3 separate regions of the Homo sapiens genome follow, and all the other regions are linked to region 2. The links are contacts of gene promoters, found by promoter capture Hi-C in human tissues and cell types (Jung and others, 2019). All regions are on one chromosome and are shown on one strand. The core of a region is centred on a gene start or on the middle of the fragment in contact, and the rest is flanking DNA. Distances in the headings are between cores, read along the strand shown.

Region 1 (3,035 bases), core at 343-2,842, 390 kb before region 2:
TGACAGCACGGCCTGTCTCATTTAATAGGTGACAAAGATCGTGTCCTTTCACCTGCCACTTGTTTAATAGAGGGCGGTGGTCTTCTCGGAAGGGGATTGACCCTGTGAATGGCTCTCTGGTGAATTTTCTGTTACTCTCTTGGGCCCTCGTCCTTGAAGTTGATCCACTTTTTATTCTGAAGTCTTTCGGGATTCACAGGAAGTGGCAGAGTGTTCTCCTCTCACCTAGCCACCCCCAGGGGTACCGTCCCGCCCACCCGTGGTGCTGCGTCAGACCTAGGAAGCCGACATTGGTGCCGTCCACAGATCCTGATCAGATTCCACCGGCTTTACACGCACGTGTGTGTGTCTGTGTGTGCGTGCGGGTGTGTGTCTGTGCGTGTGCGCGTCTGTGCGTGTGCGTGCGTGTGTGCGCACGTGTGTGTGCGTCTGCGCGTGCGTGTCTGTGCGTCTGCGCGTGTGTGCGTGTCTGCGTCTGTGTCTGCGTGCGTGTGTGTACGCGTGCGTGTGTGTGTGTGTGTGTGTGTGTGTGTGTGTGTGTAGTTCTGTGCAGTTTTGAGACATGCACCTTCTTTAAGCCCAGGAATCACCAATCTGTTCTTCATCTGTACGATTTTTTTTTTTTAGGGACCAGGTCTCACTCTGTTGTCCAGACTGGAGTGCAGTGGTGTGATCATAACTGACTGTAGCCTTGAAGTTCTGGGCTCAACTGATCCTCCCACCTCAGCCTTGTGAGCAGCTGCGACCACCTAATTAAAAAAATATGTATTTTGTAGAGGGCTGGGTCAGCGGCTCACACTGGTAATCCCCAGCACTTTGGGAGGTTGAGATGGGAGAATTGCCGGAGCCCAGGAGTTCAAGACCAGCCTGGGCAACATGGAGAAACCCTGTCTCTGTTTAAAAAAAAAGAAAAATTTCAGCTGGGTGCGGTGGCTCACACCTATAATCCCAGCATTTTGGGAAGCCAGGGTGTGTGGATCACATGAGGCCAGGAGTTCAAGACCAGCCTAGTCAACGTGGCGAAACCCCGTCTCTGCTAAAAATACAAAAATTAGCTGGGCGTGGTGGTGCGTGCCTGTCATCCCAGCTACTCGGGAGGCTGAGACACGAAAAGCACTTGAACCTGGGAGGCGGAGGTTGCAGTTAGCTGAGATTGCGCCACTGCACTCTGGCCTCGGGGACAGAGGGAGACCGTGTCTGAAGAATAAAAAAATATTGTCTAGATGGGGTCTTGCTGTGTTCTCCAGGCTGATCTTGTATTCATGAGCTCAAGTGATCCTCTTACCTCAGCCTCCCAGAGTGCTGTGATTACATGTGTGAGCCACTGTGCCCAGCCCAATTTTTCACTTTGAGTATTTTGTGTAAATGGAATCCTATAGTTTGCAACCTTCTGAGATTAGCTTTTATTCTGTTACGTTAGCATAATTCCCTGGAGATCCAGCCAAGCTGTTGGCTGTATCTTTTTTTTTTCTTTTTATTGCTGCCTCATTAACTTTTTTTTTTTTTTTGAGACCGAGTTTTGCTCTTGTTGCCCAGGCTGGAGTGCAGTGGCACGATCTCAGCTCACTGCAACCTCCGCCTCCGCCTCCGCCTCCTGAGTTCAAACGATTCTCCTGCTTCAGCCTCCTGAGTAGCTGGGAATATAGGTGCCTGCCACCATGCCTGGCTAATTTTTTGTAGTTTTAGTAGAGACATGGTTTCGCCACGTTGGCCAGGCTGGTCTCAAACTCCTGACCTCCAGTGATCCACCCACCTCGGCCTCCCAAAGTGCTGGGATTACAGGCGTGAACCACCGCGCCTGGCCGCCTCATTAACTTTTTAACAACATCAGTAATACAACAATTTACATCACTTTTTTTTTTTTTTTGAGACGGAGTCATGCTCTGTCACCCAGGCTGGGGTGCAGTGGCGTGATCTCAGCTCACTGCAAGCTCCGCCTCCCAGGTTCACGCCATTCTCCTGCCTAGCCTCCCTAGTAGCTGGGACTACAGGTGCCGGCTAAGTTTTTGTATTTTTAGTAGAGACGGGGTTTCACCTTGTTAGCCAGGATGGTCTCCATCTCCTGACCTTGTGATCCGCCCGCCTCGGCCTCCCGAAGTGCTGGGATTACAGGTGTGAGCCACTGCTTACATCAGTGTTTCTTGAGCACTGTGCATTGGACACAAAGCTTGGCTTATTCACTGGGAATTCTCAGTTCTAACAGGTTAGCGAAATAGGTGTAATTATTACCGTATTTTACTGGTAAAGAAGCTGAAACTTAGAGAGTTTAGTAACCATTGCGCTAATTTTTTGTATTTTTAGTAGAGGCAGGGTTTCACCGTGTTAGCCAGGACAGTCTCGGTCTCCTGACCTGGTGATCCTCCCGCCTCGGCCTCCCAAAGTGCTGGGATTACAGGCATGAGCCACCGAGCCCGGCCTCATTTGGCTGTTTGATAATGTTTGTAGGCGCCTGTCTGTCCACCCGTGCCAAAAGTGCTGGGATTCCAGGCCTGACCCTCTGCGCCTGGCCCCGTTCGGCTCTTTGATAACGTTTGGAGGCGCCTGTCTTTCCACCTGCGCAGGGAGGCTGAGGGCGCCGCGGTCCTCAATGCGCCAACTTTTAGGTGGTTTCTTTGTTCTTGACTCGGCTGCCCTGTGCATTTTCTCTCTCTCGTTGATTTTTCTTCTGGAGAATCTGCTTCATTGGCAAATCGATATTGATCAATTGATCAATTTTCCTCTTTATCGGCATTTCTTCTCTTTCTAAAGTTTTTGGTGACTTTCAGATCACAGGCCCCTTTTGCTGACTTCTGCCCTCTTCTGTTCCATCAGTGTGGTGTTGAGGGTTCCACCCCGTGAACCCCATCCCATTGGTTTCCATAATGCATGTTTTTCTCATATTACTGACATTTGTTCCTTTTTTTTTTTTTTTTTTTTTTTCCTAATTTCCTCTTCAGGTCAGGTTGCTTCAGAGGTTTCTGAGTTCCAAGTTGGAGGTCCTTTCTTGATTTCTAGATCTCCAGTGCCAAAACTCAGCTTTGGCTTAAACGGTAGCT
Region 2 (3,156 bases), core at 99-2,598:
TCCCCTCCCTTAGCAACAGCCGTCGCCGCCGCTCGGAGGATCTGGGGGTGAAAGTAACAAGAAAAAAAAGTTATAATGTATCAACGTTCCAGGGGGCGGGGCCGCCGCCCCCTCCCATTCACTACTTACTCCGCCGGCCGGGCGCCGGCCAATCGCCGCGCGCCGAGCGCCCAGTCGGCCGCGAGCCCGGGCCTATGAGAGCCGCCGCGGCACCGCCCCACGTGGCAGCCGGGCCCGCCCCCTCGCCCCGCCCCCAGCGCCCAGGCGACCAAGGGGAGCGCAGCGGGGGCGGGGCTGGCGCCTCTCCGCGCCCGCCCCCGCCCCGCCCGCGCCCGCAGCCATTCATAAGCGCCCGGAGCCCGCAACAAAGGGCGGGCGCGCCCCGGGGGGCGCGGGACCCAGGTCTGGAGACGGGTCTGGTACCCCTCGCGATCCCAAGGGAGCGGCCGGGAGCGGGAGGGGGCGCGGGCCATTGTTCCCGGCGCCGGGAGGGGCAGGAAGTCGTGGGGCCACCCCGCCGCCTTCGTCCGGGAAAAGCCGCGAGCGGAAGCGGGAGCGCGAAGTCCGCGCCTCGTGGCCGGGGTCCCGGGGCGGGCGGGCGACGGTGAGGCTAGGGCCGCGGCCCCGGGGAGGGCGTGGTGCGTGGGGGCGGAGTTGTGGCCGGGGCGGGGCGCCCGCACCTCGGTGACGTGGCCGGGTGGCTGCCGCCGGGGGCCCCGCGCGCCCACCCGCCGGCCGCGGGCAGAACCCGTTTCCCCGAGGCGCGCCCGCTCGAGCCGTGACGTGACGCGGCGTCCCCGGCTGCGCCCGCGCGCGCTCGGGGATGCGGTGAGTCAGCAGCTCGGGCGCGCCCTCTGCCGGGCCCGCCTGGGAGCGCCGCCCGGAGTCCCGGGGAGGGGGCGCCGCGCTGCCCCTGGCAGGGGAGGAAGACGACTGGGCTGCGCGCGGGGGAGGAACCCCGATCGGGAACGAAAGACTGTAGTCGGGAGACTGGGACCGTGTGGCTGGGCAACGGAGGGCGGAACGGCAACCAGTTCAAGGTCACCCGCGGTGAAGGGGGAGTGCCCCGGGGGGCGGGGCGGGGGCTGAGGTCCGGCCAGGGCGGCGCTGGCTGCGCGGAGCCCCTCCCACCCCGCACCCCGGGGGGCTTCCCAGGACCGGAGGCTCCCCGATCCCTCCTGTCCCAAGAACAAAGAAAAGTGCGGGCATCCTGAGCCATCTAGAGTGGGCACCCTTCCTCGGCCCGCAGGTCCCCCCCCTCCACACTCACCGGGCGCGGCCGGTTCTGCGCTCCAAGTGCTGCGAGTACCTTCGTCCGGGGCCGAATGCGCGCTGGCCGGGCCGGTCTGGGCCAAGCGCGCGGCCCTCAGCCTTTATCCGCGCCGCCTTCCCTCGGGGTGGAGTTAGGGCGGGCAGGGGGGCGGGGGGCCGGGCGGGCGGTGACGCAGACTGGCCCCCGCCCCTGCCTGCCGGCCCTGGCCCTGGGGCGCCTTGACGGCTGGGCCACCCGGGACCCAGGCTTGGCGCAGTTCATGGGGGGACTCCCCTTGAATGCCCCGAGCCAAGGGTCTCGGCCCGCCTCGCCGCGGGCTGAGATGCACCCCGAATCGTCAGCGGGACAGGGTTTTGGGGTGTACAGCGCGACTCGCTGCCCCGCCCCCTTCCTGTCGCCCCAGGCCCGGTGCTTCCGCCTGGGGGCGCCCGCGTGGGGGGGACGGGAAGAGGGGCCTGAGTCAGCGGCTGTCGTCCAGGAAAACAGGCTGGAGTCACCTGCCGTAGAGTGGGGGTGCCCTGGCCAGCCCTGGCCTCCTGCATCTGTCAATGGTGACCTCAGAGGGCATTTATGGAGCGATTAGCCAGTGCCAGGCCTGCCTTGTGCCCAGCCAGTCACCAGCCGGCTATGCTGTGACCCCGGGAGGTAACTGGCCTCTCCAAGCCTCAGTTTCTCCAGGGTGGGTGGGAGTGTGGTGAGGGGATGCGGCAGGATCACTTTGGGGCCATCACCCCCCATTAATGCAGGACATGCACTGGTTCCCAGCCTTTGGGGTGGGCATTACCCCATTTTACAGATGAAGAAACTGAGGCCACAGCCAATGAGACACGAATGTGGTGTGCATCTCACCCTTCCCCGTCGGCTTTTTGAGGATGGTCCTGGTTGAGGTGGGCCCCGTCCTGCCCCTCTATTTAGAGAAGGGGACCCCATTCCTACGGGAGCACCTCCTGTCCACTCATCTGGCCCCTCCCTTTATCTGGCCTGACCACCTCCACCCCCACCCTGGCCATGGGCGCCCCTCCCAGGGCTGCGCTCCTCCCCAGGTCTCCTTCCGGCTGCCACCCATGCTCCCGGCAGCCGTGGCCCCCACCTTGACAGGCACACCCAGCCCCGAAGGGTCAGGGCTAGGCCAGAGAGGGAGAGGCTGGGATAACCCTTGGAAGGGGGTCACAGGGGCTGCGGTTTGAGGAATGACTAGGAGTTTGTCACATAAAAAAGATGATGCGGTCGGGCGCGGTGGCTCACGCCTGTAATCCCAGCACTTTGGGAGGCCGAGGCGGGCGGATCACAAGGTCAAGAGATTGAGACCAGCCTGGCCAACATGGTGAAACCCTGTCTCTACTAAAAATACAAAAATTAGCTGGGCATGGTGGCATGTGTCTGTAGTCCCAGCTACTCAGGAGGCTGAGGCAGGAGAATCGCTTGAACGCGGGAGGCGGAGGTTACAATAAACCCAGATCGTGCCAGGGCACTCCAGCCTGAGCGACAAAACGAGATTCCGTCTCAAAAAAAAAAAAAAAAAAAAAAAAGGCCGGGCGCGGTGGCTCATGCCTGTAATCCTGGCACTTTGGGAGGCCGAGGCGGGCGGATCACGAGGTCAGGAGTTCGAGACCAGCCTGATCAACATGGTGAAACCCTGTCTGTACTAAAAACACAAAAATTAGCCAGGCGTGGTGATGTGCGCCTGTAATCTCAGCTACTTGGGAGGCTGAGGCGGGAGCATTGCTCGAACCCGGGAGACGGAGATTGTGGTGAGCTGAGATTGTGCCATTGCACTCCAGCCTGGGCAATAAGAGCGAAACTCCTCTCAAAAAAAAAAAAAAAAAAAAAAAAAAAAGACGATGGTCCAGGAAGTGGGAATGGCTTGAGCAGTTCTGGGAGCT
Region 3 (2,811 bases), core at 1-2,500, 280 kb before region 2:
TGTAGCAGCGGCTGAAGGCGCCCTGTGGGGAGGGGTCAGCAGATCAGTGGGCAGGTGTGCACGGGTGTGCAAGCTGGCAGCGCGTACAGAGGCACAGGGCAGCCAGGGACGCAGGCGCGTCCAGGTCTCTCCACACACACACCGGGGAAAAAACAACACACAGCTCCCACCCTCCCGCCTGGACACACAAGACATGATGCACACAAGAAGGCACAGAGACACAGACACAGACACATCCACGCCTGGTGCATAGAGGCCACGGACCAGAAGACAGCACCGGATGCACAACACCACGCCTGAATACGACACACAAACACGCAACGCCCAGACACAGAGTCACCATGCATGGACACACAACACAACACCCAGATACACAACGCAGCAACACACAAACACATGAATATACAATGTCTGGACACACAGTCACCACGTGTGGACACACAACACAATACCCAGACACAGCACAGGAACACACAAACACATGAACACACAACACCTGGACACACAGTACAACACATGGACAAAGACACAGATACAAACACATGAACACACAACTCCTAGACACACCACATATGAACACACAAACACACAAGCACACCACATGAACACACAACACCCAGACACACAACACAATGACTGGACACACAAAGGCATGACGCACAAACAACAGGTGAACAAGCAACACAACACCCAGACACACACACACACACACACACACACACACACGAACACCGCACAGCACCCAGACACTTGGAAGCAGCGGGCACAGACGCGGCACACTCAGACCCTCGCCAGGCTCGCACACACACCCAGGGGCAACACAGCGTCGCATCCCGAGGCCGAGCCGCACGCCCACACCCCGGACACGCAACCCACGGACACGACGCACAGCGCGCTCAACACGGTTCCCGCCATGCGAAACCCCGCACGGGAGGCCCCGCGGCTCCGGACGCGCGCCCGCTCCAGACCCCGCGCTCGCAGGGACGCGCCGCGTAGACCGCGCAGGATCGCCCGCGCGCCCCGGGACCCCAGCCCAGCCCGGTCCGGCCCCGTCGCGGACTCGGGGCGCGGGCCTCCCACCTTGCCGATCAGCTTCCCGCGCCTGTACACGCGGCCCGAGCCCGGGTCTCGCAGGAAGGCGGCGACCAGGGGGCGACTCCTGCGCCGCCGCCGCGGCCGGGGCTCCATCGCGCGGACTCTGGCGCAGCCGGGCCGAGACCACCGCGCTGCGGCCGCTCCGGGGCCGCTCTGAGGGCGCAGGAGCCGCCGGGGAGCGTTTTATTGGCCGCGGGGGCGGGGAGGGGGCGGAGCCCGGGCGCAGGTCCAGCCCGGGGAGGGGCGGGAGGTGCCCGGCCGTGGAGTGGGGGGCGCGTGAGCGGCGGGGACGCCGCGGCTGGGGAAGTTCCACGGACCAGAGCGCGCCCGAGTCCCGCACGCCAACCGGGCGCCAGGGGCCGCGCTCAGCCCGCGAGCTCCTCCGACCCTGCACACCCGGGCTGGCTGGGAACCGCTGATACGCCCGCTTTACCGAGCGGGAAACTGAGGCTCTCTCGCGCGTGGGGGGTTGGGGGCTTCCGGGGGCTTCTCCCCCACAGTGCGCTTGAGGTATGAGCCTCGACGTTCTGAATGTGTGCCATTTCGGGTCCTCCCTGCTGGCGGGTCCCTGGGGCCCACATGAAAACCTGGGGCTTGATGGCCCTGGGCACTGGGGAGCCACAGCAGAATTCGGAGCGGCAGAGAAGCCCAGCGTTTGTGATGCTGGGGCTGGTGGGGAGGGCGGTGAGGCCTGGGACAGGGACCCAGGAGGCAGGACCGGGGCTTGGGGACGCATGGGCTGGGGTCCTACAGTGTAGTGGATGTCCCATATGAGGGAGCTTCAGCCCGGAGAAGGGATGGGCTGTGTGGAGCAGCAGGTGGACCCTGGCTGGGGTTTGCACGGACAGCCAGGTGGGGACGTCCTTGAAATGGCGACCTCAGAGAGCATCAGAAACCTCAGAGAACTCAGAGAACAGCTGGGTGGGAAGACAGTGGGGGGCTTGAGACTCCCCCGGAATCGTGGGGGTGGTTGCTCCAAGCCCTGCCCCAGACTCAGGTGCACCCCTTTCCTGGTGAGGTCTTCCCTCACCCTTCCACCCAGCCTGGGACACAAAAACGGGCCTTGTCCCCATTGTACAGGCAAGACATTGAGACCCAGGGACGCAAAGTCGCTCAGTCAGCCCAGGAAAGGGCAGCGCTGGGTTTGAATCCCGGCAGCCGCCCCTGGACGCCTGCGGTATTAATCCCCAAATGTTACATAACACCAGGAATGGGGAGGGGTTACCAGGCTCCGTGGGGCTGGAATTTTCCAGGGACCAGATTTCGGAATCTGGCCCGGCCACACCACTAGGGACAGGAAACACCTTCTGAGCCGTCACGTGTCCACCTGGTGTCACGAATGGGGCCCCCGTGCATTGGACGGGGCTGAGCTCGGGCACCTTTGCGGGGTTTCTGGTCCCAGGGCCAGGGCGGAAGATTCCTGGCCAGCCTGGGGCCACCGGGTTGCAGCTGGGGAGCCCAAGTCCCCTGCTGATGAGAATCAGGTGAGGTGGCTGCAAGGTGGGCTGCTCGGGGCCCGAGTGTCTGAGCTGTCACACGACTGTCACCCTGGAATCCTCCAGGGGCAGAAAGCCAGTTCCTTGCTTTTTTTTTTGTTTGTTTGTTTTTTTGAAAGAGAGTCTTGCTCTGTCACCCGGGCTGGAGTGCCGTGGTGTGATCTTGGCTCACTGCAACCTCCATCTCCCGAGTTCAAGCAATTCTCCTGCCTCAGCCTCC

What was found. The method cuts DNA at HindIII sites, captures the fragments that hold promoters and counts their contacts. A contact is called where the count stands out against the background at its distance.
Region 1: a contact is called between a fragment that was not itself captured here and the fragment with the promoter of MIDN in region 2, in 1 of the 25 tissues and cell types used here (spleen).
Region 3: a contact is called between the fragment with the promoter of PLK5 here and the fragment with the promoter of MIDN in region 2, in 1 of the 25 tissues and cell types used here (heart right ventricle).

Annotation. Positions count from the first base shown.
Region 1 is chr19:1,639,636-1,642,670 of GRCh38, reverse strand. The region is part of intron 3 of TCF3 (transcription factor 3); the gene reads left to right. Among named protein-coding and RNA genes, the nearest start is that of TCF3, 11 kb to the left of the region's middle. The HindIII fragment of the contact is 9,192 bases long and covers 1-3,035 here.
Region 2 is chr19:1,246,775-1,249,930 of GRCh38, reverse strand. It overlaps MIDN (midnolin), which reads right to left and starts at 1,348. Exons shown (of 9, transcript NM_001388306.1): 1 at 1,271-1,348; 2 at 1-41. It overlaps LOC102723811 (a long non-coding RNA gene), which reads left to right and starts at 1,859. Exons shown (of 2, transcript XR_007067082.1): 1 at 1,859-1,918; 2 at 2,070-3,156. RefSeq lists silencers at 125-594, 625-744, 805-1,264, 1,355-1,894 and an enhancer at 738-1,271. The HindIII fragment of the contact is 34,576 bases long and covers 1-3,156 here.
Region 3 is chr19:1,522,516-1,525,326 of GRCh38, reverse strand. It overlaps PLK5 (polo like kinase 5 (inactive)), which reads right to left and starts at 1,250. Exons shown (of 14, transcript NM_001243079.2): 1 at 1,081-1,250; 2 at 1-22. The HindIII fragment of the contact is 15,366 bases long and covers 1-2,811 here.